Linked DNA regions of Homo sapiens: region 2 is linked to region 1. The links are contacts of gene promoters, found by promoter capture Hi-C in human tissues and cell types (Jung and others, 2019). All regions are on one chromosome and are shown on one strand. Each heading gives the region's core, a stretch centred on a gene start or on the middle of the fragment in contact. The rest is flanking DNA. Distances are from core to core; before and after follow the strand shown.

Region 1 (2,700 bases), core at 65-2,564:
TACAGTGTCCCTATATTACCTTGTCACTTTGCAATTAGAGTACTTCATCATTTCTACACACATCATATATTTGATGCAACTCTGTGCCTTAGGTAATATTATTGTCCCCACTTTATGGATTAGAAAACTGAGGCTCAGAGAAATGGTGACATTTTCAAGGGTAGCCAACTGGTAAGTGCTGAGTTTGGGACCAGAACTCAGCTCTTTGAATTCCTATTTCAGAACTTTTTCTTACTGCTACTCCAGTCAACCCAAGGGTGGGCCCTGCAGAGTAATAAGAATGCATTCAATCAGCTTCACCCAACTTTTTCTCCCATTCTGACCATCTTTTGAGTTCACCTTTTCTGGAGCCACTTCAATCACATCCTCTTCCCCACACCCAATCAAGCCCTCACCTGAGGGGTCCATATGGAACACTATTAAGAAGATGGCGAAGTCCAGGAAAGAGCAGTTGCACTTCCAGGGGTTTCCACTCAGAAACAGGGTCTCCAGAGTAGTGAGGTGGTATAAGGCAGCACTGTCCAGGGTCTGCAAGCCGGTATTTCTGAGGTCCAGGTACCTCAAAGAGGTGGTGTTGGCAAAGGTGAACTTGTGAAGCGATAACAGGTGAGGGTTGTTGGCAATGTTCAGCTGCACCAGGTTGCTGAGCACCGAGAAAGTGAATGGGGAGATCGAGGTTAGGTTGTTGGAGCTGAGGTCAAGGTAGATGAGTTTGAAGACCCCGATGAAGGTATAATCCATCACCTCTCGAATCCGGTTGTTCTGACAGTCCAAATAAACAAGGTCACTGAGGAGTCCTAGATGCATTGCTGGCAAACTAGTGATTCTGTTCTCGTTCAGGAACAGCCTCCGGGTGTTCAGGGGTATGTCAAGGGGGTATTCGGTTAACTGCTTCCCTGTGCAGATTACTTCTTGGGCTTGACACAGACAATTATTTGGACACTTTGACCCTGATACCAGCCCCATTCCAAAGGAAAAGAGTAACCACCCAGGGCCAGGGCCTGAAGCAAGGGACATAGTAAGAAGCCACAACCACCCTCCTTTCACCTTCCTGCGGGCTCTGTCCTCTGATCCGAAGGCTGCCGGTGGGGGGGTGGGGCGGGGGAGGGGCTCTGGAAAGAACTGTAACACTTTAGCTTTGTGCAAAGCAATTTTCCATTACAGGAGAACTGAACAGAAATTGAAACGCGAGGCTCAATGCCCTGCCGCCCAGCTTGGTGGCTCTGTCGCTCGCTCCCAGACTGCTGCTGGAAGCTTGCCCACTTGGCAGCTTTGAAAGGTCTCACCCTTTCCCTGCGTTTGCAAGTGAAGGGGAGCCAGGGGAGAGCCACATGACAATGAGGTTGCCAGTTGACACCTTTGTGATGTCAGCAGCCTCAGGAGACTGCCTGGCTGAGGGAAAGAGATTCCTCACCTCTCCTTCTGGGTGGTGTGAGGGTGTTTTATGTGTCTTGGTAAGCCAGCTGGAACTCCCTGGGGGAGTTGGGGCCTCATGGGTAGGGGCCTGCAGCATGTGTGTGTTGGAGACCAGGCTGGGTTCAGTGTGTGGATGTGTATAGTATCTGTACCCGCTCCCCATGGAGCTGTAGTAGATTAGGTGACATTGGACCCCCTAATCTGCAGGCCATAGAGGGAACATGGGACATCTCCAGGCCAACTCCTTTTCTTAGTGATGAGCAGTGACTTGCTTGAGGTCAGTTCTCAGTGTGGGTCTTTTCTTGGATATTGATTTGGATGGGTGCCAGTTTTTCAGTGTTGCCAGAAGAAGATGGGAAAGGGGGTGTTTCTTTTGAAATGAGGCAAGGGGAATTCCTCTGATAAAGTGGTACTCTTTTCAGACTTTATTCCTAGGATGTATACATCTCTGTCTGCATTTTGAATATATATATATGTGTATTTTTAAAAAGTTTTTGAATAAGTGTAAGCTACTCCTTCTAACACAAAACCCAAATGTATATATAAAAAATCTGAGTGCAACAATAGAAGTATTTTTTTACCACTCGTATTCTCCTAGGACTTTTAAAATAGTGAGTGCCTCTCTAGTACTTCTAGTGTGAGTTTATATTCATTAATTACTTGTCAGGTGATTAGTCTTTTGGAGCGAGGGATAGAAAACCTGGAAGCTGAAGAGTTGGGATGTATCACACACCCCGTGGAGGAAGGCATATCAGGCAGAAATAAGATAAAACATCTGAGGAGTTGAAACTTTTATTTTTGGGAAAATTGGATTTCATTTTTTAAAAACATTCATATATACTGAGTTGTGAATATTAGTAACATATTGAAACCTAAGCACAGTGCCTGGCACCTGGTATGTAATAAATGTATAGTGAATGAACAATGTGAGAATGTTTCTGATGGTTTGCTTCCTTCTCTTGCTTCTTTGCCAAGAGAGAAATTAATAAAGTCAGATGGATTTGTGGCTAGTTAGCTAATGCTTGATTGTTTACTTACTCAGCATTCCTTGGGTGACTGGCTGTGAATTAATATGATGACTTAGGCGTGTTTACCAAATTGAAAGTGACCTTATTTAAGTAGACATTTCAAATACTTAAAGTAATGACCCCAATGATAGCTGTACTAATTGAAGCATGACTTAATTGATAGGGCAGACACCCTTTCCTCATAATTAAAACAAATTCTATTAAAATATAAGTTCCTTTCTAGATCTTATGTGATTGCCGAGGAGAGAAATCTAGC
Region 2 (2,700 bases), core at 35-2,534, 170 kb after region 1:
AGGTCTGTGTGCTTGGGCCCTGCTGGTGACTGACAGCCAGAAAGGGGAGAGATGAGGCCACTCCTCCCTCCCAGGTGGACAAGTCTGGCGACAGACAGGCACAAAGCTGAATCGGGTGAATCTTTAGAGTAAGTCAATTTGCTAAATGTAAATATCACCTTTTAAATAACACAAACTTGGAATAAGCCATTAAAATATTTTTAAACTTTAAAACGCACAGGGAATCAGCTCCTGTCAAAACCAAAATCTATATGTTTCTTTTTATTAAAGAAAGATGTTCTGCTTTCTAATGGTAATACAAGGGTATTAAAAATATATGTTCACAGAAAAAGTAAATGGAAGGGAAAAATTTACTCTAAGTTCTACTCCTGAAAATTTAACCATTGTTCACTTTGTGTGAATTACATAATATGCACAAGTATTAGAATGATGCAAAACCTCATGAACATGATCTTTAAACAAAGGCTGAATACAAGACTTCATTTAGCTTTGCCTTTTGGAGGTTGGAATAATTTGGGTGTCCCTGTGGAGGCAGCAGCCCTCCGGGGAACAAGGTCCATTCTCTCTGGTCTCTGCTAGGCCACCCGCACAGGAAAAGCAGGTACACCAAGTTCCGTTTCTTAAGGGCGCCGGCACTTGAAAAGGGAGCACAAATGTCTGGAAAATGTCAGTTCCCACATTTAGGTGCATATGGGCATCACAGGGTAATGAAGACTTTGAACATCCATGCCTGGAATTAACTCTGCTGGGGCCAGAGATGGTGGGAGGACACCCCGGAAGTCCTGGCCTGTGATTGGAGAGGGGAGTCCCTCCAGCACCCTGTGAAACAGATAAGGCCGAGCTGGGCTCCTGGAGCAGTTAGAGATACATTCTTACTACAGAAATGTGTCCTCCAAGATCTCATGCGTACATTTTAGGCTTGGGGTCTGCCTCAAGGCGGAAGTGCTGCTGGGACCTGTGGCATGTGTGAGTGAGAGGCTTGGCTTCCGTGAGGTACTTTGGGGCCACAGCCTCAGTTAGAAAAACAACTAAGATGGATTTGGGAATGGAAATAATTCTTGAGAGCTGCCTTACAAATTACTCAATGAAACCTGGAGGAAAAAATCAGTGTCAGGTAAGAATGTCCAACACACTGTGGACCGGACATGGCGTGGGCTAAGAGGGGTTCTTTCAGGGGCTTTTTAGGACATCTCCCAGGAATCACAGCCTGTGCATCCCATCCTGCTCTGCAGGAACAGCTTGGAAAGAGCTGCGGTAACCTAGGAAGTTTCACTTGTTCTGCTTACAGTTCCAGGCTGAGAGCTGACAGATTTCACATGTGAGCGGAAAAGGACCACTTGTCTGGCCCTAAACCTCCAAATTACCAGCCCGTCCCTGCCCCCCGTGACCCCAGAGCAGTGGAGAAACTCACCTTCATGTGTAGTTTCTGCTTGCACACCAGATAGCAGCAGCTATTGTCAAAGGATCGTGGATGGTCCAGATTTGAAAGAAAAATATGCACACGTACAAGCCCAGGGTCTACTGAATTCAGAACTGGTGATCATACAAAAATGTTCCAATTTGAAATCCATATTCGCACTGAAAAAAGAAAATAGTGCAAGCGAACAGTGAGAACAAAGTTATAGGGAGATTGCTTAAACTACTTGAGGCCAAGTAACATTCAAGGCATTTTAAAGTTATTCTTTGCAAAAAATAAATGGGCCGGTTATAACAATCCAAAAATTTAGCCCAGTCCTGCAATAATTTGAGTTGTCAACACATCTGGACTAGGAATTCTAGGCAAGTCATATTCTGGATACCTGGTTCGTGAAAATTCAAAGAAATTGAGCACTCTATAGTCTTCATAATCACTGTGGAGGTTTTATGGGGGAAGGCTGACTTACGGACTCCCTGGTTATCAAACGGACCAACACAACAGTGATACCGTAGAGTCACAGGGGAGTCCCAGAACTGAATACCTCTGCACTGGGCTTTCTATAGTTGGTGTATTTGACTTGTCTTCCCTCTTGGCCACTTCTATTCTCCATCATCATCTGCTTTGATTGACAGCATATTTCCAATCTAAGTTATAACTTCTACTTCTCTGGACATAGGCCATCGCTGTCCACCCGATTGTTCCTTGTTATTTGTTTTTATTTCCACCTTCATTATTGTATTCTCTGTACCTCCGTGTCATCATCTATAAAATGTGGACAATAATAGCACATACCTGATACCTGATATGGTTGTTATATAGATTATGTAAGTAATACATGTAAAGCAATTGGAATAGAGTCATGTACTAAGTGTTCAATAAATATTAGTTGTTAATGTTGTAGTTGTTATTATTACTGTTATTATTGTATCTGATTCCCCTTTTTTTTCTTTTTGACTTGGGTGCTGGTAAAGTTTTACTTGTATAGGCATTGAACAGTCAATGAGAGTAGCACTTTCTTTTGGTTAGCAAAATAACTGAATCTCAGCAGATTTCCCTTTTGGGGCTATTTTTGGCTACTTTCATTGCTGCTGATGCCTGAAGGACTTCCTGATTATTTCTGGGTTTGTGGCTTTTCTTGGCAGTTGAATTGAATTAAAGAGATATTAAGTGTCTGAGTGTTGAATAAGGAGGGTGCCCTGAATTTGAAAGTAATCAAAGTGTATTCTATTACAAAATTTAATAGTCTGGACTTTCCAGTAATTCACTTTTGCCTTATGTCCAAT

The links. The method cuts DNA at HindIII sites, captures the fragments that hold promoters and counts their contacts. A contact is called where the count stands out against the background at its distance.
Region 2: a fragment that was not itself captured here is called in contact with the fragment with the promoter of LRRC52 in region 1 in 1 of the 25 tissues and cell types used here (pancreas).

Annotation. Positions count from the first base shown.
Region 1 is chr1:165,542,614-165,545,313 of GRCh38, reverse strand. LRRC52 (leucine rich repeat containing 52) reads right to left here and starts at 1,314. Exons shown (of 2, transcript NM_001005214.4): 1 at 396-1,314. The coding sequence starts at 1,017. The region is part of intron 3 of LRRC52-AS1 (LRRC52 antisense RNA 1); the gene reads left to right. The HindIII fragment of the contact is 8,196 bases long and covers 1-2,700 here.
Region 2 is chr1:165,371,872-165,374,571 of GRCh38, reverse strand. No RefSeq gene overlaps it. Among named protein-coding and RNA genes, the nearest start is that of LMX1A, 17 kb to the right of the region's middle. The HindIII fragment of the contact is 6,810 bases long and covers 1-2,700 here.